Regions from separate parts of the Homo sapiens genome. Here regions 1, 2, 3, 5, 6 and 7 are each linked to region 4. Evidence: promoter capture Hi-C in 16 types of primary human blood cells and fetal thymus (Javierre and others, 2016). All regions are on one chromosome and are shown on one strand. The core of a region is centred on a gene start or on the middle of the fragment in contact, and the rest is flanking DNA. Distances in the headings are between cores, read along the strand shown. Region 1 overlaps PDE4D (phosphodiesterase 4D). Region 2 has its middle 11 kb from the start of CD180. Region 3 overlaps SREK1 (splicing regulatory glutamic acid and lysine rich protein 1). Region 4 holds the start of DIMT1 (DIM1 rRNA methyltransferase and ribosome maturation factor). Region 5 overlaps ERBIN (erbb2 interacting protein). Region 6 overlaps PDE4D (phosphodiesterase 4D). Region 7 overlaps SREK1 (splicing regulatory glutamic acid and lysine rich protein 1).

Region 1 (3,509 bases), core at 404-2,903, 3.3 Mb before region 4:
CTGCCTCTATGCCTGAACTTCATCTGGAAGTCACACATAGTCTTCTTTCTGTCTTCAGCCATGAGCAATAGTGTATTTGCACTAAAAACGTTTCCATGGCATCTTCTTCTTTATTTAATTTTCTATCAGCAGACCCTTCTTTGATACTTCCTTTTTCTGCCCATTCTGGTAATTCAGTTGACTAAAACACAAAACTCTTCCCAGGTAATCTTTGTTTCCCTTTCATAATCTGCCGTTTATACATCTACTTAATTCATAATTTTGCTAAACATCTCCAATTATTTGTTCCTACATTGTTATCTTGCCATCAAAATATTGATTTTAATACCTGTGACCCCTCCAGTCCATTTAAAATATTAATTACCAAGTTTCCTGCCTTGGATATTGGAGTTCTTAATACTAACATCAAACCAAATGTTTTATCCTCATTTCTAAAGCTCTACTCCATTGCAGACACCGTGACATCTAACACTTAGCAGATAGAAAAAAAGTATGCCATTGTAAATCTGAAAACTTCTGGGCTTGCATGTCAGAGACTGGAAGTGGTTTGTTTGAAAGGAGCTTATACTGAGGCAGCATAGCATAACACAGTGGTTAAAAGCAAGTCTGTGAAAGTGAGAAAGACTGGGGTCCAAATCTTGGCTCTAACACTTCTAAGCTACGTGACTCTGGGCAAGTTGCTTAAATTCCCTGAGCACCAGCTTTCTCATCTGTATGATGTAAAAAAAAGAGCAGCACTGTTTAGTAAACATGGTCTTGGCTTTATACCACTTCCTAATATTTCTACAACTGTCAAGTCAATCAACATGTTACCTTAGAAACTGTGGAAAAGGTATAACCTTTGGAAAATGTAATCAGGGGGGAACAACTTTTCCTAGCCCAAGTCCAGCTTCTGGTTCTGCCCTGACAGGTATCTGTAAGTTATAATGTTTTACTAGGTCTTCATTTCCTTACTTATAAACTGAGGGAGGTTGAGTGAGGAGTTCTATTTGTTTGCATTTTGGCTCTGCAATTCAGGGGTTTTATTTGACACGTGAGGACCAAGGAGTAGAAAGGAGCAATCAAGTGCAGTGGTTTGGTCAAGATCACATAAAAAGTCTTGCTGTAAAACCAGGAGCTAGTCCTAAACTGCTCACCAGCAAGCTTGATTTATACTCGAGTAGACCATATTCTCTTGCTCCTCCAGCTGCAGCTCCACTCCTCATTTATCTTAGCCCAGGCTGACTCTAAGCTGCTTTCACTTCTACCTCACTGCATTTCGCCCTGATAATTTTGTAGCTTACCTAGCCTCCCTCTTTGAGATCCCTTCTTAAAAGGGTCATTCTATTAACCTACCCATATCAGTTACTTTACTACTGCTGATCTATCGCTACCTGTCAATTCATGGGAATTACAGGGTGCACTGGGACAAGAGTAAAATGATCCAACAAACATAATGTTGCATTTAAAAAAATAAGCTAAAAGATACTGATGACTTTTTATAACTACAACATATTCGTTTGTGAATAAGAACATATATAGTAAAAAGATGAAAATGTGAACAGGTTGACTATTTCCTAAATTTATGGCAGAGGTTGTTCTGGAGAGGATGGAAGAAAAATGAGGCTGGCAGTGATGGTGGGGAAATGCAACCTCCAAAATTATCTATCTATATATTTTTATTAAAAACACCCACAGTAATTATGGCAAATGTTAATGTTTGTTTGTTCTAGGTTTTGGATACATTTAAGATCTCTTGCTTTCTGGGTACATTTCTTTTCTTTTCTTTTCTTTTTTTTTCAAATTAATTCCAAAAGACTTATATCTGCTACATGAAGAACGAAGCAAGTTCAGCTCTCTTGCTGAAATGTTCAAATGCTGAGGCAAGGCCTGTACTACAAATTTGTGTAACCAAAACCACAGTGCTCTCAATGCTCCTAGTGTTGCATTACAGCAGTTAGAAGAGATTGAGCTATTTTGTTTCCATGGCTCATTAAGCTAGAGTTAGACTGGTGTCCATAATCAAATTTACTGCACTTACCCTTGCTTCTTCCCTATGAAGTACAGCCAGACCTTAGGGAAAATCTCAACTATTCCAGGTCCATGGTAATTTGGTCCACGAAAGAAATTAACACACCTGAAAAGGATTAAATTATTTTTCCTTTTCAAAATGATCCTCTTCCTTAAGCTTCCTCTGTCAATTGACTGCCAACCTTATTTGCTAATTCCCATCCCTCATCGGGCTTCCTAGCACTTCCTGCTGCAAATTAGTGTGCAGTGAACCTGAGCCTGCTCTCCAAAACACATCCAGACTCTTGGGGCTTTCTGGGCTTCCGCTAGGGTGCCTGGTGCAAAGGGGGCCTAAATCAATCAATTAAGGCCTGGGAAGATTCCAGGCAAGAGGAAGGGATATCTTGGGGGACAAAAGGAATGTGTAGGTGGGAAGAAGGGAGAAAGTCTTTCTTCGTTTTTCACTGCAGGAAATGATCTGGACAGAGAGCAATTCGAATCATAGACAGGGAGGGTTGGGCAGGATGCGATGGGGGAGCGAATGACAGACACAAGTGACAGGAACAACTTAGGGAGACAGGTCAGAAAACATCTAATCTAGGCACATAGCAGAAATAGTGAAGGGAATTGAAACAGTTGTTCTGTATTTTGTTCACAGTGTTAAAGTCAAAGTCAGTGCTTTTTAACCTCATGGGATGGAGCGGGGGAGGGGGCACAAGGAGCCTTGTGTGAAGGCTCTGGCTCTGCTTATTGATCCCCCAAATACAATAATACATCCTCACAATCATAAATTTGAGAGCAAGGGGCTCTGATCCTGTGATATACAATCTAGGCCCTTATTGGATCCTGGAACTGATTTTCAGAATCCTTTATTCTTTTAAGTACAATTGTAAAAAAAAAAAAAGAGAGAGAGAGAGAGAGAGAGAAAGCAAGGAAGAAAGGAAAAAAGGAAGGGAAGAAGGAAGGAAGGAAAAAAGGAAGAAAGGAAAGAAGGGTTCCATTTATAAACCTCAGACAAAACAAAAATGAAAGCAAAAGAGAACAAAAAATAGCCAATACGACCCAAGTTACAAATTTACTTGTATCCTTTCAGAGGATAACCCAAATTCCTGCAAGACAATTAGCCATCTTTCTTTCGATTATTACAGTAAGCAAGACGGGTTAAGAGTATATAGTAAATGTGCTTTGCTAAACTCCTTCTCCCTTTATTGACTCTATCACAAGAAGCACACTTAATATAATTTTTACAATTTTTTAAAGAACAAATAGGAAAGAGGAGAAGGTTGTACTTTAGCTACCTTTGTGTATTTGAAAGGAATGCTGTTCAGGGCTTCTTCCTTTTCAAAAAGAAACAGGTCTTTGAAAACGAAGAATCATTACTGTGCATATCTCTCGAGGGCTGCTCCTCTAGTATCAGTCCATTTGAAATAGGAGTTTCACATAATTCAATTTATTAAACCCACATTTCCTGCCAGATTTTGCTTTATGTGCCTATGTCCTTTTGTTTCCCGGCTAACATT
Region 2 (3,780 bases), core at 28-2,527, 4.8 Mb after region 4:
ACATTGGCCAATGTGGTAGGCAGTTCACCTCTGAGGTAGGGCAAATCTAGCTTTTTGACTTTTTCCCCAAATGAGATGCAAGATATGGAGCCTATGGAGAAGAAAATAAGAAGCTAAGAACTGGTGTGTCTTGGGTTTTCAACCAGAGAAAAAATCCAGTTTATATGGCAGAATAAGCATATACCATGATCAGACCAGCCATAAACAGACATCAAGGTAGCGAAAAAGTCCTTACAGAGAGATGCCATCAGCAATGGCCAAGTATGGTGATATTCTAACATTCTAGTTTCAAATTCTAGCATAGTTTTTCTCGTTGGAACATAACTACTGTAGTTCCTGTTGCAGTCTATAATTAATGAACAAACAAACAAAAAAAGAAGTAAAAAGAGGAAATTGTAAAATTTCTGTTCCCACCTTCTAAATATAGTTTAATTTGCTTTAAACAAATCTACCATAACACTTTTAATTTGTAGAACTGATAAACATTAATTTATCAAAGGACTCATATTATTTGTGACTGTGCTCACAGACTAGAGTTCCTTGTAGAATTTCTTTCAACTGTAACAAACGTGGTGCAAGTTTTTTGATGACTTGATTTTTAAAAATTTAACTACACATATCTTGGCTGTATAAAGCGAGGCTGACTTGTAACTTTGAAACATGCACATTAAATAGTCAAGAGTCAATAAAGAAACTGAACAAATGACAAAAAATGTTTGCTTCAAGTGAGTCAGTCATGACAAAACTACTCTCAGAATTGATTTGGAGATAGCCTAGGCTGTGGTTTTTCAGAGAAACCTGTACAGCTGGGTGGGGCACTGCGGTTTGCTAGTTTCTGGAGAGGTCAAAATGTGAAGTCAAAATGGTGTGCTGATACGGGAAATGACTGAGCTCCATTGCAATTCAGACCTATGACAAGCGGTTAAGGCACCTGCTATCCCCAGGCCTCAAGCTCTGTGTGGGTGCAGTGGAGCTGGATTCTTGAAGAGCTGGTTGTTTTCCAGGGCAGGAGATGGCCTGCTCCCAATCCAGAATTCTAACAAGAAAATAGCCTGGCCATGGCCCACACTTCCCAAATAGATGCACCTTTTTTTTTTTTGGATTGTCATCTTTTAAAAAAAAATACATATACTTTCATCAGCAGAATTGAATTTGGAAGGTTGCTGATGTTTTTTAAATTAATAGAATATGAAGCATTTACCATTTTCATAAGAAAGCTCATTAAAATTTACCTTTTATCCCCCTCTTGTCTGAGAAATGAGTATCTAGCACATAGTGCTTACTATTGCCAGGTACTGTTCTAAGTATTTTAGAGATGCAAACTAATGTAATCCTATGCCTAGACTCTGAGTAGTCTTTTCTAGGCAAAGAAACACAAGGAAGCTAAGTAAATTGCCCAAGGTCATTCACTGTATGGATGGGTTGGGGCTTGAACCTAGGGAGTCTGGCCCCAGAGATCAAACAAGAGAAAGAAGGCATCAGGGAAGCCCGAAGAAGGGAAAAAAAACCCACCAAAACAACCAGTTTTGCCCAATGCTTTGAAGAAAACTTTTAATCCTGTCTCCTTCCTTGCCCATGAAAAATGTCCATTTAGTCATAGTCGGAGTCAAGGGCAGAGCGAGGTGGGAGAGTGCCAGCCCGATGCTCTGTGACCCCATCCCAGCCTCGTCCCCTAGGCTTTCTCTTAGGCAGTGCTCTCCCAGCCTCTGTCATCTCCTTAAACATGGGTCTCCTTGCCTGGGCGAACCCTGCACATCCTTCTGAGCAGCACTGCCCAGTAGAAATGGGAGCCACATATGCAACTGTAAGTTTTCTAGTAGCCCACCTTAGAAAGAAAAAAAAAACCACGAAACAAATCTGTCATTGCTTTCTTCTTCCACATTTTGCTTTTTAAACTTCTGTTTTAAGTTTTTTACTTTAAAAAAATTCCCAAAAAGGAGACAGAAAACAGCTCCTGGAAGAATTTACAACCAACTGCATCGGGGTCTGGGAAACTGGACCAGGGTGGGGATGAGTGGATGGGAAGGGGTCCCCTTTAGTCACTGCGGCCTCACTGGAAGACCAAGGGAGCAGGGATTCTTCAGTCAAAAGGGAGGCAGGGAAGAGAAGTGGGAGGAGGTGGGAGTTGGGTGGTTGGAGGAGATGAACAGAAAATAAAATGTCGTTGTCTGGTTAAATCCAGAGAAAAATACCTGGCCCTGTAAGGAGGGAGGATGCCCTTCCAAGGGGATGGAAGGGGTCTGGAGGGAAGCAGGGTAGGGAGGCCACCCTGAGACCCTGGGCAGGCCCTGGTGGAGGAAGCGGGCAGGGGCCTCCGGGACTGTGGGACACACTAGCTATTGTGTTCTTGTGCCATCACCCTGTGTGTTCCCAGAGCAGCTCCTTGCTTCATTTTGCTTTCTCTTAATAAATGACATGGCAGTCCTCCCTGCCCCAAAGTGAAAAATTAATTAATTTCAGGAATATATTTTATTTAACTCAATATATCAAAATATTATTGCAATCATATAAAATCAATGTAACTGATGTGAAATATTAATGAGATGTTCACCTTCTAACTTTATACTATGTCTTCAAAATCCAGGGCTTGTTTTACATTTCCAGCACATCTCAATTTTGGCCCTATATTTTCATTGGAAATATTTGATCCGTATTTAGATTTCATAAAATTCATAGCCAAAAAACTAGATTGACATAACCAAGTTGTTCCAGGCACACTTAAGAGTTTTTCAACCACTGAATCGAGTAATAATGTTTAATGTTTAAACAAGTTAAAATGAAATAAAATTCAATATTCAGTTTCTCAGTCTACATTTCAAGTGCTCAAGAGGCACATATGAACTGGAGAGAAATGAAACCAAAAAAACACGGGCTAGTGAGTTCAGATTAAACAGCCACCTGAAATCATCATTGACTGATTACTCTTCTTGCTGGCTACCTCGGCACAGCAAACTGCAGGCAGGCCTGGAAGCTTGGGTTTTTGGCATGGAGTGTTGTCAGGTTCATTCCTACACGGTAGGCAGTGGCAGGAGTTATTTTGCAAATGTTAACCCTGCCACCTAGTGACCACTTTCTGAATGTCACTTGAAGATTACCACCTGAAAATTCGTGTTGACCTCAGTCTTGCCGCCCTTCCAGACTTTCTCCTGCTTGGAGGCCCCATGTGGCACGGTGCTGCTGATGTGTCATAACTGTTTTGGGGCTGCGTTAGCGATCCCTGGAGGATATGGACTGAGCTGTATCTCCCTTTGTTTTCCCACAACAGTAAGGTGCTTGGAGATTAAGGAGCACGTCTCAGGAGCATCCTATGTGCCGAGGAGATGGCTTCTGTCTCCCCAAGGGTTAGAGTTCCCAATTTCTCTTGTGTGACTCAATTGTAGCACCTGAATCTTCTGTTTGTTAATATGTGTCCCTCCTCCATTGAACTGCGAAATCTGTGAGGTCAGGGACAATGTCTTTCTTATGTTTGAGCCCCATCCCCTAGTTTGGTATCTGTCTGACAACTGTCAGGGGAATGAATGGCCGGATGGCATGGCTATAAACTCCCAGTCTGCCCGGCATTCTTGCCATAGTTCTCCAGATGGGGCATCTTCCCTTTTCCACTCTCAGGATGAACTGTGTCATCTTTACGTTTCTTCACCCCTTAGCCTCCCCCTTCTTCCATACATGTTCAGCACATGCTTAGTATATGACCTTGCCTTGAATTTTGGAAATAGAAAGCTGAAGTTAGGAATTCCTTAATTTACACCCACCAAACCTTCAAACCTACCTCTCCATGTG
Region 3 (3,785 bases), core at 553-3,052, 3.8 Mb after region 4:
CCAAGGTACAGTTGATTCTCATTCTTTGTGAATTCTGTATTTTTGAATTCACTTAGTAAGTAAAATTTTTTTGAAATCCCCACATCAACAGTTGGAGCACTTTTGTGGTCGTTCGTGGACATACACAGAGTGGTGAAAAATTGGGGTTTGTCTATTTGCACGGAGGTCGAAATCTTCTTGTTTTGGCACTCAGGCAGTAAACAAGCACGCAGTCTGTTTAGTGCTATGTTCTTTGAATTGTTGTGCTTTTTGTTGGTGATTTCACTGTTAAGATGGGCCCACAAGTGTAGTGCCAAACTGCTGTGTAGTGTTCCTAAGTACAGGGAGATTGTGAAGTGCCTCATGGAGAAAATATTAAATACATGTATTAGATAAGCTTCATTCAGGCCTGAATTGTAGCGCTGCTGGCTGTAAGTTCAGTGTTAATGAATCGACAATATATAACAGCTAAGGTGTCTTTAAACAGAAGAACATATAAAATAAGGTTAAATATTTTACTAGTTAATGTAAATGTGACCAGAGGCTTGTAGGAACTTCACCCTGTATTTTCCCTAGGAATAATGGTTCAATATTCAATAATTCATTGTTCACGGAAACTATAGAACATAGCTATGTCAGGTAATGAGAAACAGCCTGTCTTTTAGGGTCAAGTTTAAAAGTGGCTAAAATATCCAGACAGTAAAATATATTTCAAATTACATTTAAAACTAATGTGACCTTACTTTAATAACTCAGACATATATATGACTGAAAGTTCGGAGTCCCTAGTCTCCTTTCATTCTTGTTGAGTTAGTTCATTCTTTTCAAGATTAGAGAATGGTATCTTTGGATACTAATAGAAAATATGTGTTCTGTGTGTTTTTTTTCTTCTTTCGATAGCTTGGTGTTTCACTTAGCAGTTTGGGAGCTATACCAGCAGCAGCACTAGACCCCAACATTGCAACACTTGGAGAGATACCACAGCCACCACTTATGGGAAACGTGGATCCTTCCAAAATAGATGAAATTAGGAGAACGGTTTATGTTGGAAATCTGAATTCCCAGGTAACTAATTAAAGAAGAAACAAAGCAGCAGTAGCCCTTATTCTTTTTCTCTTCTTAAAAATCATATCAGTGGATACAGTAATATTTATCTGATTTTTTAAATGGATATATTTTATCAAAGTGTCACTTTGTTCCCTTAGACAACGACAGCTGATCAACTACTTGAATTTTTTAAACAAGTTGGAGAAGTGAAGTTTGTGCGGATGGCAGGTGATGAGACTCAGCCAACTCGGTTTGCTTTTGTGGAATTTGCAGACCAAAATTCTGTACCAAGGGCCCTTGCTTTTAATGGAGTTATGTTTGGAGACAGGCCACTGAAGTAAGAAATCCTAAACAAAGAAATTTTAATGATTTTGAAACATTTAAAGTATTTTTGATGTAATGAAGGCTTTTTTTTTCTTTTTAATAGTAATTGGCAATTTGTGGAAAGGAAGACTTTGTGTTAAGTATAAATGAAATACATGAGATACTTACCATTTTAGTCTTTAAATTCCTTTATTTAGAGACATTTATTTTCTCATTTTCTGTTTTCTAGGGTCTAATTCAGTGTTAACATTATTTATATACCCTGCATAACGGTTGTAGGTCTTTTTCCATAAACTTTAATAGTCAGGTTGGTTTTACATTATGACACTAGACTAATTGAGCAACTTAACAGGTGGGTTGAACTACAGTACTTCCAGTAACAACTGTGGTAAATTCAAAATCTACAGAAGGAAATTATAAGTGCCCAGAAATGTTTTAAACCAGAAATTTTGACTTTTGAGGTTTGCTTACATCCTTGTTTGTAAAACGTTGATAATGGCCTTCGAGATACTCCAGACCAGAAATTCTATTTCATGCAGATTGTTGAGGCATATATAGTTTTGCTTGAATTTCATAGATTGCTTTAGTTATACAATTTGATCAGGATTTTTCTGTTAAGGATAAGTTTTTAGTGGGTACTTGTCTTCCCAGTGTGGAAGGGGTAAAGCAAGACACATAATATCCATTCATGTGCATCAGAGAAGTCACTCTTACCTAGTAGAGGAAGAATTTTTTCAGATGCCTTGCACATTCAAAGCTATGTCTAACTCAGCCATGGTTCAGCGTTGGTTAAAATGGTGTACATAATATGATGATATACAGGTAGCTTACCCTTCTTCTAGAGTGTACAGGATATCAGTAAGATCTTTTGATTTGAAAATAGAAATGATTCATTTTCATATTGGTATCAACATTTTAATTTATTTTAATTCTAAGCTATGGAAAAGCACTTCATCTAGTCTGTTTGAATTAAGTTAGCTAGGGTTCAATTTTTCTTTTCTCCCTGCTTTTGGTTGTATTCGCAAGGAATGATAGGAAGTGGGGATGAGAGATTAATCATGGTTTTGAGGTTGCTTTTGGTTATTCTGTATATCATTCTTACGTGCTTCTGAGATGTCCTCACGTTTATAAATATGTGTATCATATAAATGTTTGTTTCATGTTTTATAAAATGTGGTGTGTATTTGTGATATGCTAATATTTTTAATTTAGAATAAATCACTCCAACAATGCAATAGTAAAACCCCCTGAGATGACACCTCAGGCTGCAGCTAAGGAGTTAGAAGAAGTAATGAAGCGAGTACGAGAAGCTCAGTCATTTATCTCAGCAGCTATTGAACCAGGTAAGTACATAACGTTGTTACATAGGTCATAGTTTAAAGATCATAGACTCTTAGAACTGGAAGGAATTTTAGAAATCATCTTGTTCAGTCACTTCATTTTACAAACAAGAAGACTGAAACTCAAGAAATAGTAAGTAGCATACTCATGTCAAAGAACAACTTAGCCCATATTTTATCTCTTTCTGTGATACTGAATTGAGGCACTTTAGTCTGAGCTAATCAGCTCTGTATTTTCATAGCAAAATCAGTGCTCACAAGTGATTTGCTGAAAGCAAAAATGTTATTGCAAGGCTAAAAAGAGTACATATATTTAAAACGTTACGACTCAGCAGGTTTACTTTTCCTCAACATTTTAATTTTAGAAGTAGAGAAGAGAGCCCGTGATTTAGAAAAAAATACAGATACTGTATTTTAGTAAGGTAAAAGAACATCTATTTAAACTTTTGTGTTGCTAATGAAAATAATTAAAAAACCCATTCTAAAAACATCTAGGTGGTTTACATTTGAGCAGATTTTCTAAATCAACACTTAGAATTTAAGCTTCAAATTCTAGCAGAATAAGTGGAGAAAGGACTTAAAATCACTGTCACAGGAATTACAGACATGTTGTAATCGTACGTTACGGCAGCAACAAAATATTACGAACAGCTGTTTATAATCATCTGGTTTATATGTACTGCTGCAGGGTGGCTGCACTCAACGAGTTTATGCAATGACTTTCTTGGATGTTTCTGAAGGAGGAGGATGTACAGAGAGTAGGCCCCTTGCACTATATGTGGTACATTCCACTTGTGCCTGATTATTAACTGGGATCTTTAATTGTTCTGAGCTTACACTGCAAAGTGATTTTTTCCTCCCAGAGTCTGGAAAGAGCAATGAAAGAAAAGGCGGTCGATCTCGTTCCCATACTCGCTCAAAATCCAGGTCTAGCTCAAAATCCCATTCTAGAAGGAAAAGATCACAATCAAAACACAGGTGAGAATTTCTGCTGTCATATTTAAATTTTATTTTAGTTTTGTATTTAAAATATTAAGATTTTATGAGTTTTCGTCAAAATATCAGAAGTTAGAAATTTTAGTAGTGTACACCTGA
Region 4 (3,643 bases), core at 207-2,706:
AAGTTCAAATGGGAAAGGACTGTACGTGTTGGGCGAAGATTTTTCAATTTTCAACCCATGTATGGTTTCAAGGATGCAGAAGAGCAGAAACTGTACACAAAATTGAATGTCTGCACACAGCTCTAATATTCTACGGCCATAGCTTTCATCAGATGCTCAAAGGAAACTATGAGCTAAAAAGGTTAAAATAGTACATGACCCTTCTTTCTTTTTTTCTCAGTTTTCAAATGACACGAAGCCTGACAAGATCCTTTAACTATGTAATGCTCTTTCTACAGCTCCAGGATGCTTTCCTTGCTTTTAACCATAAGTGTAATCTGCACCGTGTGTATTTCACTTCCTAACACCCAATCATCCATAACCATAAGAGAACATCAATAACTCAGAAAGCAGTAATACTCCAAGCAATTTATATGTGGTACTAGCATACACCAAATAATTTATATGTAGTACTATATGTTTTTCTGGGGAACAAACTTTCTAATGTGTAGTTTAGACATAAATAGATGGAGTACATAAAAACTAAGTGATCAAAAAGGTGATTAGAAATAGAAGAATAATTATCTTGAACAAATACAAAGGTCCAGCTATAAAGTAGATAATCCACAAAAAGACACAGAATTGGGAACCAGGAGAAACTCAGACCCACAAAATGAAGCTTATCATGCAGAAGACAGCCCAAGAATCCTAGACAATTATTTGATTCATTCAACAAATATTTACAGAGCATCTAATTTACGGCAGGCAGACTTTCTGCGCTTATGTATTCATAGGAATAAAATTAATAAACCAACAACTCTCTCCCTTTCCTCTTCCACACCCACCTTATCGATAATGCTGTTAATAATGAGAGGATTTTTCAAAATGTGCTGCCCAATCCCCGTGTTGAACATGAGTCCTGTAAGAAAATACGAAACAGCATTAATTTTCCTACTGAGATTAGATATTAGGCAGTACCAGAGAAGAAAGCTGCATGGGTATGGGGAAGATTTCTGCGCCAACCAGGGCCACGAAACGTCACGCCAGGACTGACAAACTCTTTATAAGTTCATCCTCCAGCTGGAAAGGAAGTCAGCGGCGACGCGCAGGGCCTGCGGCCGAGTCGGGGACCCACCCCTGCCTTCCGCGCTCACGGGAGCGCGTCCTGACCGGCCTCTGCCGATCAGGTCTTGGTCCGCACCCCAGGCTAGGTCCTGCCGGAAGACCTGACCCGACCGACCCCAGCTTCCTCGCGGGGATCCGCACCTCCAGCGCTCTTCAGCTCCCGGCGCTGCTCCTGCCGCCCGCGGCGGCGGCCGATGGCCCCCGACTTGACCTTCGGCATCTCGGCAGAAAGCGGGCCCACAGGCCCGGGACGTCAAGGAGGACCAAAGAGGGCTAGCGTGAGAAAGCCACCACGTGGGGATCGCCGCCACGCGCCGCCCGCACCACTCTGGCCCAAGCGCCGGAGGGGCAAGGGTCCGCCCCCTCCCGTACGCTCTGAGCTCCTCCTCCAGAAAAAGGGCGGACCTTGGAGCCCACTGACTGCCGGGAATTGGAGTCACAGAGGGAGGAAGGCCGAACCGCGGGAGCCTACAGATCCCAGAAGACACCGCGCTACCGAGGACTGCAGTCTGGAGTTGGAGCCCTTGTCCCAACCAGGGCTGGATAAGAAGGTGTTGGTGTGGTGCTCTCGGTGTTGCGAAGGCTGTTTAAGTTATATGATGAGGTTAAGCCTATGGATGTTTTAGTAGCCTAGGTTCTGGGATCGCTGAGGTCCAAAGAAGTATTCACGTGCCTCGCTCCTGTTTTCCTGAAGCTTGTGGGGGTGGGAAACCCGGGATTTGGGGATGAGCTTGCTCTTTTGTGGGAATGCATTTTTTGCTGCTTGCCCTGGGGAAAAGAACTGCGAGAATGGAATTAACGTCTGGTTTCGCTAGGGCTACTGGTTGCTTCTACTAAGAATAGAAGAGCCGGGCGCGGAGGCTCACGCCTGTAATCCCAGCACTCTGGGAGGCAGAGGCGGGCGGATCACAAGGTCAGGAGATCGAGACCATCCTGGCTAACACGGGGAAACCCCGTCTCTACTAAAAATACAAAAAATTAGCCGGGCGTGGTGGTGGGCGCCTGTAGTCTCAGCTACTTGGGAGACTGAGGCAGGAGAGTGGCGTGAACCCAGGAGGCGGAGGTTGCAGTGAGCCGAGATCGCGCTACTGCACTCCAGCCTGGGCGGCAGAGCGAGACTCCGTCTCAAAAAAAAAAAAAAAAAAAAAGGAATAGAAGAATAATTATCTTAAACAGATACAAAGCTCCAGCTACAAAGTAGATAATCCACAAAAAGACAGAATTGAGAACCAGGAGAAACTCAGACCCACAGAATGAAGCTTATCGTGCAGAAGACAGCCCGTGAATCCTAGAAAATTATTTGATTCATTTAACAAATAATTCAACAAATTCCTTTTGTGCCTCATCATTCACTCCGTAAACATTTATTGAGCTCCAACTGTGTATCAAACACTGCTAGGGATTCTAAGTAAGAAACTTATTTCAAAGTGTATTATATTGACAGAGATGGACAGAAACTCCAAAACGCTGTAAATACGATAACGTATTGGTCGTTGTGACAGGACAGTGTACCTGACTATAAACTCCGTGTGTACCAGGGCCATAATATCCACATCTGTTTTGCCAGCCAGTGTAATGGCTCTTTTAAATTTTTCTGTGTGTATTCTGTTTGGTTGAAGAAATAGCTTCTTCCTGTCATTACTAAAGCTAACTCTCTTTTGAGCAATTCATTGTGTACATTCCCAAACCTTGGTCTTAGGCCCTTCTTTCTTTGATGTAGTTCTAAGTCAGAAAAAAAATCTCGTATACCCTAGTAGCATCTTCAAGTATATGTTTCATTTCATCAATCATTGTTATTCCACAATTCTAAAGAGTACACTGTGCTAGGCACTTCCAAATGTTAATAGGATGGACATGGCCTGGAGAGGTGGCTCATGCCTGTAATCCCAGCACTTTGAGAGGCCAAGGCGAGCGGATCACTTGAGCTGAGAAGTTTGAGATCAACCTGGGCAACAAAGTGAGACCCCGTCTCTACAAAAAATACAAAAATTAGCCAGGCGTGGTGGTGCAGGCCTGTAGTCTCAGCTACTCGGGAAGCTGAGGTGGGAGCCTCACTTGAGCCCGAGAATTTGTAGTGAGCCAAGATTGCACCAACCTGGGCGACAGCATGATACCCTGTTTAAAAAAAAAAAATTAACATGACACAAAACCCTGTGTGTGATTTGTTATTGTTGTTGTTGTTGGGTTTTTTGGTTTTGTTTTTTTGAGACGGTCTCACTCTGTCACCCAGGCTGGAGTGCAGCGGCATGATCTCAGCTCACTGCAACCTCCGCCTGCCGGGCTCAAGCGATGCTCTCACCTCAGCCTCCCGAGTAGCTGAGACGACAGACATGAATCATCTTGTCCAGCTAATTTTTGTAATTTTTGTAGAGGCGGGGTCTCACTTTGTTCCCCAGGCTGATCTCAAACTTCTCAGCTCAAGTGATCTGCCTGCTTTGGCCTCTAGGTTGCATTTCTTCTGTGAAATAAAAGGCAAGTTTTTCTGTAGAGAAGGAGCTGTGGAGGTGGTAGGACAAGGGGCATGAGTGCGGAGAAGGTT
Region 5 (3,360 bases), core at 399-2,898, 3.5 Mb after region 4:
TGATCAGTATATTTAGTTAGATTTTAGAAACCAAAAAATCTTGCCATTCTTAGTTGTTTTTCAGGGTGAGTAATATATTTCTTTAGTTGTGTGTAGTGTGTGTTTTTCAGACGTTTAGCGCCGTATAACTTGTTTAATTAATTGAAAGCAAGGATCGACTAGGCTTTTCTTGTAACTGATCCATTACGAAGAAAAAAGGAGTAAGGACTAAGAATAGGGAGAGATAATTAAACAACATTAACAACCTGTAAGACGTTTAATAGGACTTCTGTACAGTTCAGAACAGACGATGGGAGGGGAAGTAAAACGCTTAAAACGATTTTCAAGGGAATCACAGTGATTGTGATAAAAAGCTGTGCTTTTCGAGTAGTATGGTCTTTACATTTTTGTGTTGTCCCAAATGTTTTTGGTCGGTTCTGCATAAATAGTGATAGGTTCTGCCTACATCTGTGGGGGCAGGATTCATGAAGCATGGCAGACATTCCACCAGTCAGAGCTATGAACACTTCTGAACCAATGGGGACTAGTTTTGATAGCAGTAAACCCAAAGTTTTTTTCAGTGGTGTTTTAGTCTTTTTCTGTTTACTTTTTTTCCCGGTATTTTTGCGGTACAGGGAGGTGAAATACAATACTGTACTTTTGAATATATATTGAATAAATTTGGTAATCCTGTTGGTAGGTATATCCTAAATATATATTGATGTTTAGATTGCCTATGCTGTCTCACGTAATGACCGGAAACCCGAGGAGAGAGTTGATTTTCTTTAGTTCAAAGAGAAAAAATAAGTTTTAAAGATCAGGATCAAATTATTTCACAATTTGTTCTTTGCTACTTCAGCTTCATTAAGTACATCTCCAAAGGCAGTCCTTTATTTATTACTGTAGTTTTGATTTTTTTTTTCCTCCCCGGGGCATGGTCTCAGGAGATTCTTTTTTTTTTTCATTGTTGGTAAGATTTGTGAACCATGGAATAATTCTTGTTAAGTCAAACTAGCTTTATCAAAGAATTTAAAGTGCATAACTCATCTACTTTATGATTTTGGAACGTATCATTAGGCTGCAAAAGAGGTTATTCTTGGGCATCTGAAAGAGGTGAACAAAATAAATGGCATTGAACTTCAGTTTCCTTATATGGCTTATACTTGGCTTCAAAAGCAACAAAACCTTAATAGAGCAAGTCCCTTACAGAGAATTATCGCTTTATGAAGATGGTTATTTATTAGTAAATTTTGTATAAAAAAAGTATTGTAGCACTTGAAAATGACTATTTAAGCCTCTATTTTTAGATTTAGTTCTTGATTTTTTTTCTCAGGAGAAGAGTAGTATGTTTCGATGCAGACAACACGTTTTATGAAGTGAGGTGTTCACCTTTGTGTTTCTTTTTTTTCTCCTCAACAAGGCATAATTTACTTCGTAGTTTTCTTGGAATTCTGTTAGTTTATCACCGAATTAACTTAAATTTTAGGTTTTATACTATTGTGAAACTATAAGTATTTTCGAAGCTTTGTTTAAACTGTGACAAAGGTTTGAAAAGAGGTTAATAGAGGAGTCATCCGTTAAAATATTTTTAAATGGCTTCAAAATTTGGATATTCTTCTAGTATGGTGTGGATTTTCAAAGATTAAATTGGCAAATAGAGAGTACTTCCAAAGTCTATATTGCACAAAATACACACTTAAAGGCTCTGTTTATTGAAGGTAATCATGAATTTTCAGGACTTCAACTGATTCAAGTAGTACTGTTACGAGGTCTCCTTGCCATTTGAGATCAAACTATTGTAAACTTTATGTATAAAAAGCTTACAGAGGTACAAACATGGAAACCAAATTTTTATTGTATGCTGTTTCTTAATGAAGTGATAACTATAGATACATTAACATATATCATTGGCAAATCTCAAAAATCGATTATTTTACACATTGTTGGTATTGCACTATTAGTAGTAAATAATACCCTTTAAGAAATAGTTAAAAGTTTCAGAAAATAGGTGTATATTTCAAAATTACTTATTTGAAATAATTGCTTACGGATAATACGATTTAGACTTTAAGCTGCTTTTGTTTTGGAAATAGATTATGGCAGTACTTACAGAGTATTTGGGATTATGCAGAATTTTAGTGATGCTGGGTAGCAGTTTCTTTTTTATTTTTCGTAATTGCTGCTTATCCAGATTCTCCTTACATACCCTACTTGGCTGCTTGCATTTTGACTCTTTGCCTTGCTCATTCATTTCTTGAATTTGTTACATGCTTGCTTCCGTTTTCTTTTTCTGGGAATACATCTCTATTATAAACCTCTAAAGATGTCTTTGTCTTTTCCTCTTTTTTTTTTTTTTTTTTTTCGAGATGGAGTCTTGCTCTGTTGCCTAGGCTGGAGTGCAGTGGCACAATCTCGACTCACCACAACCTCCACCTCCCGGGTTCCAGCGATTCTCCTGCTTCAGCCTCCCAAGTAGCTGGGATTACAAGCGCACATCATCATGCCTAGCTAATTTTTGTATTTTTAGTAGAGACAGGTTTTGCCATGTTGGCCAGGCTGGTCTCGAACTCCCGACCTCAGGTGATCTGCCCACCTTGGCCTACCGAAGTGCTGGGATTACAGGTGTGAGCCACTGAGCCCGGCCTACTGCTAACTCCCATTTTTCAGATTCACTTTTTAGCTGTCTCTTCTTAGGTTTCCTAATTGTAAAAAAGAAACTTAGCTGCTATTCAGCTTTCTCTTCTGATTCCCTTAGCTTCCTATATTTATAGTTAGCTTCATTTACCTAGCCTTATTTTCTCTGTGTTCAGTTGGTCGTTCTTAATTATATTTTGCCATTTCCCTCTTTTCCAAACTGTTAGTCTATGTTTATCACCTCAAAAAACTGTTCAAAACATGCAGTGGAAAAAGTTTATCTGATCTTATTTTATTAGCCCATTTAATTCTGAATATCCCCTTTGCATTTCAACTAAGTGTACATGCTGGTATTTTAACTTTATATTCATCAGTATATTGCTTTGTTTATTTTGAGATGGAGTCTTGCTCTGTCGCCCAGGCTGGAGTGCAGTGGCAAGATTTTGGCCCACTGCAAGCTGCGCCTCCCCCAGGTTCACGCCATTCTCCTGCCTCAGCCTCCCGAGTAGCTGGGACTAGAGGCGCCCGCCACTGTGCCCGGCTAATTTTTTTGTATTTTTAGTAGAGACGCGGTTTCACCGTGTTAGCCAGGATGGTCTTTATCTCCTGACCTCGTGATCTGCCCACCTCGGCCTCTCAAAGTGCTGGGATTACAGGCATGAGCCACCGCTCCCGGCCATTGTTTGTTTTATACTTTGTTTTCTCAGTTTTCCTTTTTCTCTTTAGTGTTCTTAAAATTGACTGTTA
Region 6 (3,612 bases), core at 224-2,723, 3.4 Mb before region 4:
GGGGCGGACAGAAACAAGCAAACAAAATATACAATGTTGTGGGGTCGGAACGCTTTATAATTCACAAATTTGACAATAGGCTGCATTTTCATATGCCGAATTGCCTAAGAGTTCTCTTAAAGGAACAGCAATGTGAAAGAACCACATGGTAAGGAGAATTTACGCATGTCCTGCATACTACTCCTTTCCCCTGTGAATTGCATAAGACCTAGATGATCTTGGGCCAAGGAAGAAAATCTGGAAGGGTGTTTCTACCCACCATGTGCAGAGTACACTACAATTTTGAGAAAACGGAAAGACCATATTCAAAGGCATACAGAAAAGCCTGTTCTGTTTACAAAGGCTGACCCAGGGCACCAGGGACACTGTCCCTAAGCAGATCAGTTGTGGGAGAACTTTTCTACATTAGCATGCAATAAGCAAACCATTCATAGTGAGGAGAAGTCAAACTCCCAAGGGTCCATTTGATAAAACTTTGTCATTGTCGAGTGGAAAGAAGATACTGAGAAACTTACACTAAGTGGTGGGATCCCTTGTCTTTGTCTTTGAATCTACAGGTATTGGAGAAGAAATTCTGCCCTTGAAATTTAGACTCCATAAATTAACATGGCACAACAAATAAAGTTCATGGACTGAATTTAGGCTCCTGGGATTTTTGAGATAGCTTTTTATGTGAACTTTGTAAAAGTTAGAGTAACTTTTAAAGTAGTTGTTACATGTGCCACGTGGCTTATTGTTATCAAGAATACTTGAACTATTTACTGTTCACTTTGAGTACTCTAGGTTAAAATTTGCCTCTTTTTTGTTCTACTTCCTCCACCCCGCAGTCTATGTAAATATATACTTTAGATGGACAAACAACTGCCTAAACCTTGCCAGGTGAATTAAAGTTTCAGATTGAAGCTTTTTTTTCCCCCTTAACAAGCTTAAAGATATTAATAATTTTAAATGGTAAATATAAAATACCTGCTCTGTATAGCTTCCCCAATTCTAAGAATGTAAAAAATATTACATGCTTGTTATAAAAATTGAAGCATTACACACAAATATAGGAAGTCCATTGTAACCCCACACCCTAAAGATCACAAACAATACTTTCGCCTATGGCTCTAACACAATCATTTTCATTTTACTGAATAACTTCCATATGCAAGTATAGCATCACCTAGTTGCCATGGTAGTGCATCTACTATATGGTTTGGTTTTGATATTTTCCTCTCTCTCTCATTCCCATAATATAGGAATGTAGGAAATTTTAAGAGGACATTGACTTGTTTTATGATCATTTGAGCTGTCCATAGTTAGCCTATCCAGTGGATTAAAGATGCATAACCATTGTGTCTGGGATTTGTTCAGTGCCATCTTTTCAATCATTGGTTACAATGAAGCTGGGAGTCCCCTCTGAGGTTCGGCTTTCTGTGGCTCCTCTCCCCTGCACTCCAACTTTCTCAAAGCCTGAGCCTCAAGTGATTTCCCAGTAGCTAAGTAAACTGCCCCCTTCCTCCATCTTCACCAAGTTCCCAAAGCTGTTCAGACTCAGGCTTCAAATCTAACAGGATGTGGCTCCACACATTATATTTCAGTTGTTATTTTTTAATGTGGAAAATAATTCAGGAAAGTTTTGGCTAATGCTTCAAGACATCATGCACTTTATACACAGGATTTGTTCTTAAGAAGGTAGTATAGTGACAGGAGGAACAATTTACTTCAGAATATCCATTTTATGTCCAAGCCATGCACCAGCCACTTTTGACAGACAGGATTTGAGTATGATGATAAAATGGGGTAAGCATATATTTTAAGTTCTAACATCTGTATAAATAAGAAAAATGAAAAATCACTGGAACACATCTACATGCTAGTGAGAAAATAATTACTAACAGAGTAAAGTTTGCTCTGTGAAACTGTTGCTCAAATAAAGAATTATTCTTGATATTAGCATAGAGCTGAGAATATTGCTTTTTTCCAAATTCCTAGGTGAGTAGGCAATATAGCTAGCCACGATTTTTCAGGATCATTTGTAAAGCTTCACTTTTAGGAATTTTAACCCCAAGTGTTCTAAGACATCAAGTAACTGACCTTTTCATCCCGCCGAACAAACCTCAAAGTGGAGTTGCCAACTATCCCACAGGAAATTGAGTCACCACACCAAGCAACACACCTAAATGTCGACAGCTAGCAGGACAAAAACAGTGAGCCAGTTTAATTTTGGCTTTTACCAAGAACACATACTGCATTCATTAATAAAATACTTCCCCTCAACCCCTGCCAGAGTAGTATACACTGTGGCTCTCCTTAAAAATACATGAAAACTCTTTAACTGCACCAAATCTTGCTAAGTCAAGGAACTAAACAGAGAAAAACACCCAAGCAAAAACTATTGGCTAAACTCCCTAAAGGCTGGGAGAGGGCTATGGAACAGCAACTGAGAAATAAATTGAGCCTTGAAGGCCCCTGCTACAACAGCATCAGTTTTCTTCAAGGCACCTTTGAACTATGTAACACCCGCATTCTGCTGAGGCTCTTCTGTGAACAAACAGTCCTCAATTCTTGCGGGCCAGCACTTGGCTTCTGTCACAGTGATATGCTTAGAGGTTCCCCTGACACATGGCCTGAAACTGTGCCAGGGGCTCCAGGAGAAGATGCTGAAGAAGCAGCTTCCTTTTGAAAAAGGAAAAAAGTAATCACCTCAGAGCCACAGCAGTTAGCTAGAGGTTGAGGTCATTTTTTGTGAAATGTTCAGTCCATTACTCTTACCCACAACTCACAGTGATGTTGACCATTGAGGTAAAAGGATCCACTGTACGGGATGTGTAACTATGTGGACATTAGTTTCTTTGCCAACACTTGAAGGTCTGCTAAAGGACTGTATCGGCTTGTCATAATTCCTAGATAGACCTATTGGTATACATGAAGAGAACAAGTCCAAAAAATACCACTTATTTTGGACACTATTTGTATGCCCTTAATTTAAAAAAAAAATACAAATTATAACAGCTGAGGTCGGGCACAGTGGCTCACGCCTGTAATCCCAGCACTTTGGGAGGCCAAGGCGGGCAGATCATGAAGTCAAGAGATCAAGACCATCCTGGCTAACACAGTGAAACCTTGGCTCTACTAAAAATACAAAATACTAGCCGTGCATGGTGGCGGGCGCCTGTAGTCCCAGCTACTCGGGAGGCTGAGGCAGGAGAATGGCGTGAACCCGGCAGGCAGAGGTTGCAGTAAGCTGAGATTGGGCCACTGCACTCCAACCTGGACAACAGCAGAAGACTCCGACTCAAAAAAACAAAAAAAATTATAACAACTGATCCAGATTTTTTTTATTATTACACTTTAAGTTCTAGGGTACATGTGCACAATGTGCAGGTTAGTTTCATATGTATACATGTGCCATGTTGGTGTGCTGCACCCATTAACTCCTCATTTACATTAGGTATATCTCCTAATGCTATCCCTCCCCCTTCCCCCCACCCCACAGCAGGCCCCGGTGTGTGATGTTCCCCTTCCTATGTCCATGTGTTCGCATTGTTCAATTCCCACCTATGAGTGAGAACATGCGGTATTTGGTTTTTTGTCCTTGTGATAGTTTGCTGAGAATGATGGTTTCCA
Region 7 (3,282 bases), core at 589-3,088, 3.7 Mb after region 4:
GGCGCGCGGTGCATGTCACGTGATCGCGCCGGCTTACCTTGGTGCCCATATTTGATTAGGGCACCCGGGTTCCGCCGTCCTGCTCTCCTTAGTCGGATTTGGGGGGTTAACTACTGCACGGAGCCCTTACCAAGGATTTAGAATGGTTGCCCTTTCTGTGCCTCCGGGACTTGTGTTCGCTGCTGGGTCTTCGAATTCCGTGCCCCCACCCTCTTATTTCCCCCCGAACTTAAGATGGCCGCAGGTGGGCCCGGAACAGCCCTCATGGCAAACGTCTCAGAGCGTTTTTCCACTCTGAAAATCGCGGAGACCGCGCCTGAGCCACAGTCCAGTTTTTAAGGCCTTGGTGTCAGGCCGTTTTGCTGACGAGAAAGCCTGCTGCTGGTGACAAGATGGAACTGGGGCTGTGTTTGTTTCCCAGGACGGTCGCACAAACTTAGCATTTTGGTTTATCTAACCGAGCGCATCCATGTTCCCAAAGATCATGTCTGTTAGCCCTTTTGACAGCAGATTAAATTTTCCTCCTGAAAGGTCACACTGTCCCAAAGCTTTCAGAAAAAGTGTAAGTCGGTGCAGGGTTATCCCTCCCGTATACATTTAAAGTCCAGATCTTGGCTGGCATTCACAGCTCGCGGCCACTTCCCAGATAGTGTATTTTGGAATGGTAAAATTTCCCTCGTACGATATTATTTAGAAAACTCGCAAGGGGTTTGTAGGTTGTTCACATTCTTGCACACAAACTTTTTTTCTTTTTTAATGGTAGATCTTACAGTATTAAGATCCTCCGTTTTTTGTTCATTATATCAAAATCCTTTGAGGGAAGGGGTAATTGTTACCCAAGATTTATTTCTTTAAAAAAATTTTGATTTATTTCCTAGTGATGCATTTAGACCTATTTTTCTTTAGTTTTCTATCTCAGGTTATAACAGTGCTGTTGCATAACTATATAAAAGTTGTGTGGATATTTAAAATTTACTTTTTAAGTTTTTCTTCTCTGCTTTTTGTTTTGGAATATTTCATGCATACAGAAAAGTTGAAAGAGTAATACATTGAACATCCATGTTCCTTTTACGAGCATTTTGTCTGTTTTTGGCTACAGTTGATTATTAAAATTTCCCCAGTTATTTTAATAATGCTTTTTTGTCTGCTTTTGATCTAGTATGTAATTAGATAACACTGTCTCCCTTGAATATGCCAAGTAATCCATGTATTAATAGTTATCTCCTTTAATCTAGGACAGTCCCGTCCCCTTTTAAAGATTCTAAAGTCGTGACATTGATATTTTGTTTTGTAGTTCATTTTGTCTTGTAATATGACTCATAATCTGAGTTTATATAGATGAGATATATAGATGAGGTATATAGAGATATGTGTATATATATATCTTTATATTCGTGACGAGATTCAGGTAATACATTTTTGACGAGAATACTGCATAAGTGCACGCACGTACATTTTGATTGATTAACCGTGGCATTATTGCTTTAATTATCTTAACTTTTGGAAATGCTTTCAGCCATCTCAATTTAAGTTCTCAGAACATTTCTTAATAGTTGAGAATAATTGAGAATTGTTTGGGGGAGTGCCGTATCCTGCAGGCATTGGAATCAATCAGTAAAATACTTTGTACATGAACCTTTGTAAATCTTGCTTTCAAGGCTGTGGTAATAAGGTATCTCATAGGTAGAAGAAATATATTGGAGAATGTTCTTCATTATCAACATAATATTTATTTGGTTGAAACCTGGGTTTGGGTGACAACACATTGCCATAACTGACAGTAATGGGCCACTTTTTTGAAATCAGATGTTATTACTTGGAATTTAAAAGTCAAAGAGAATAAAAAGTTCTTCACTTAAACATATGGAAGATTACGGTAGTGTATTTCACAAACTGTAACACATTAAGCAAAATTGTTGCATACGTGTAATATATATAGGCCAGGCAAAATCCTTAACTAGTTTTTCCCTAAGTGCAATACTAGATCCCTCATTCATGTTTTGCAGCAATACTGACATGCTTTATTCACAGGTTTTCTGCTTCGTAATGAAGTTGTCATTGCCTGGTCCTTATATTAGAAGACGTGTTTGCAAATTTGGACTGAAATGGATACAAAATGCAATAGTAGTAGTTGTATTGAAAATATATTGTTTTGCAGTGTCACATAAATTATTTTATGACATCTTTAGAGTTGAGTAGAAATTTAAATTGTTTTAAAATTGGAAATATATTTATTTTCAAATACATATTTCCAGGTATATTGGAAATACATTAATAGAATGTGAAAATAGTTTCTCATTAAAATTTTATGATTGAGCCAGGTGTGGTGGTGTGCACCTATAGTCCTAGCTACTCAGGAGGCTGAGGTGGGAGAACAGCTTGAGCCCAGGAGTTTGATTCCAACCTGAGTAACATATTGAGACCCCTATCTCTTAAAAAAAAATGACTTAAATGACTTAAGTTGCTAATATGAAAATTCAGATTTTAAATTTAATTCTTTTGGCATGATGCAGTGGTTGAGTTTCATCTTTATCTTTTAAACGTTAAGAATTTTTTAAGGCTAGGGAATTCTTGTGAACATTCACTGTAAGCATTAAGAATTCTTATTTGTAGTTTGTCATCCTTTTTTTGTGCTGCCAGTTGATAAATATGTAGAATTACTATTAACTTTTTGCACAATAAATCAATCTCACAGCTTGTGAAACTTTCTTACACAAGTAAGAAATCCTTGTTGTTTTTTCAGTAAATTTTTCATTGAGGTTTAATGTACCTACAGAGAAGTGCACAGGTCGTAAGCGCAGGTTGATGAATCTTTACAAAGTAAACATACCTATATAACCAGCACACAGTCAGGATTATCTGCACCCTGTAAGTTCCCCGTGACCCCCTTCAAGTAACTAAAACCTGAAGGGTAAGCCTACCCTGATTTGTAACACTAGACATTTTTCCTGTGTTGATTTTTTTTGCTTGTTGATTTCCGTCACTTCTCTGGTCTTCTAAAGTTCTAAGAAAGAATGGAAAAATCTGTCAACTACTTAAGTTTATTTAGTTAAAAAAAATGTAACCACTAAAGCCACTTTATAGAAAATAGAGAAAAGGAAACAGCACTTGTGATCCCACCACTCTATCAAAGCTTCTCTCCATTTCCCTGTAGTCCTTTTCACATGCGTTAATAAATATTGGACATATTACCTCATTGGTTTTAAAAATAATTGTATAGTGCTATCATTATGTAATATATGTAATATAGCGTAATCAAAGGAATCACACTGTTATTTTACT

Evidence for each region. Contacts are between HindIII fragments. The CHiCAGO score rates a contact against its expected background, and 5 or more counts as called.
Region 1: a fragment that was not itself captured here is called in contact with the fragment with the promoter of DIMT1 in region 4 in 2 of 17 cell types (naive CD4 T cells and activated CD4 T cells); the score reaches 9.0 in naive CD4 T cells.
Region 2: a fragment that was not itself captured here is called in contact with the fragment with the promoter of DIMT1 in region 4 in 1 of 17 cell types (naive CD8 T cells); the score reaches 5.6 in naive CD8 T cells.
Region 3: a contact is called between a fragment that was not itself captured here and the fragment with the promoter of DIMT1 in region 4, in 1 of 17 cell types (naive CD8 T cells). The highest score is 5.0, in naive CD8 T cells.
Region 5: a contact is called between a fragment that was not itself captured here and the fragment with the promoter of DIMT1 in region 4, in 1 of 17 cell types (fetal thymus). The highest score is 6.2, in fetal thymus.
Region 6: a contact is called between a fragment that was not itself captured here and the fragment with the promoter of DIMT1 in region 4, in 2 of 17 cell types (total CD8 T cells and naive CD8 T cells). The highest score is 9.6, in total CD8 T cells.
Region 7: a fragment that was not itself captured here is called in contact with the fragment with the promoter of DIMT1 in region 4 in 2 of 17 cell types (non-activated CD4 T cells and naive CD8 T cells); the score reaches 8.4 in non-activated CD4 T cells.

What each region holds. Positions count from the first base shown.
Region 1 is chr5:59,123,216-59,126,724 of GRCh38, forward strand. The region is part of intron 5 of PDE4D (phosphodiesterase 4D); the gene reads right to left. Among named protein-coding and RNA genes, the nearest start is that of PDE4D-AS1, 85 kb to the left of the region's middle. The HindIII fragment of the contact is 1,024 bases long and covers 1,142-2,165 here.
Region 2 is chr5:67,206,313-67,210,092 of GRCh38, forward strand. No RefSeq gene overlaps it. Among named protein-coding and RNA genes, the nearest start is that of CD180, 11 kb to the left of the region's middle. RefSeq lists an enhancer at 1-1,037. The HindIII fragment of the contact is 3,384 bases long and covers 1-2,969 here.
Region 3 is chr5:66,161,230-66,165,014 of GRCh38, forward strand. SREK1 (splicing regulatory glutamic acid and lysine rich protein 1) reads left to right here. Exons shown (of 12, transcript NM_001077199.3): 4 at 880-1,044; 5 at 1,185-1,363; 6 at 2,563-2,693; 7 at 3,554-3,668. Among named protein-coding and RNA genes, the nearest start is that of SREK1, 19 kb to the left of the region's middle. The HindIII fragment of the contact is 2,857 bases long and covers 375-3,231 here.
Region 4 is chr5:62,402,449-62,406,091 of GRCh38, forward strand. DIMT1 (DIM1 rRNA methyltransferase and ribosome maturation factor) reads right to left here and starts at 1,457. Exons shown (of 12, transcript NM_014473.4): 1 at 1,246-1,457; 2 at 825-898. The coding sequence starts at 1,324. RefSeq lists an enhancer at 1,378-1,667. The HindIII fragment of the contact is 1,140 bases long and covers 657-1,796 here.
Region 5 is chr5:65,927,317-65,930,676 of GRCh38, forward strand. The region is part of intron 1 of ERBIN (erbb2 interacting protein); the gene reads left to right. Among named protein-coding and RNA genes, the nearest start is that of ERBIN, 2.4 kb to the left of the region's middle. The HindIII fragment of the contact is 296 bases long and covers 1,501-1,796 here.
Region 6 is chr5:59,040,241-59,043,852 of GRCh38, forward strand. The region is part of intron 5 of PDE4D (phosphodiesterase 4D); the gene reads right to left. The region is part of intron 1 of PDE4D-AS1 (PDE4D antisense RNA 1); the gene reads left to right. Among named protein-coding and RNA genes, the nearest start is that of PDE4D-AS1, 2.3 kb to the left of the region's middle. The HindIII fragment of the contact is 1,101 bases long and covers 924-2,024 here.
Region 7 is chr5:66,144,622-66,147,903 of GRCh38, forward strand. The region is part of intron 1 of SREK1 (splicing regulatory glutamic acid and lysine rich protein 1); the gene reads left to right. Among named protein-coding and RNA genes, the nearest start is that of SREK1, 2.0 kb to the left of the region's middle. RefSeq lists enhancers at 250-309, 370-419. The HindIII fragment of the contact is 2,585 bases long and covers 547-3,131 here.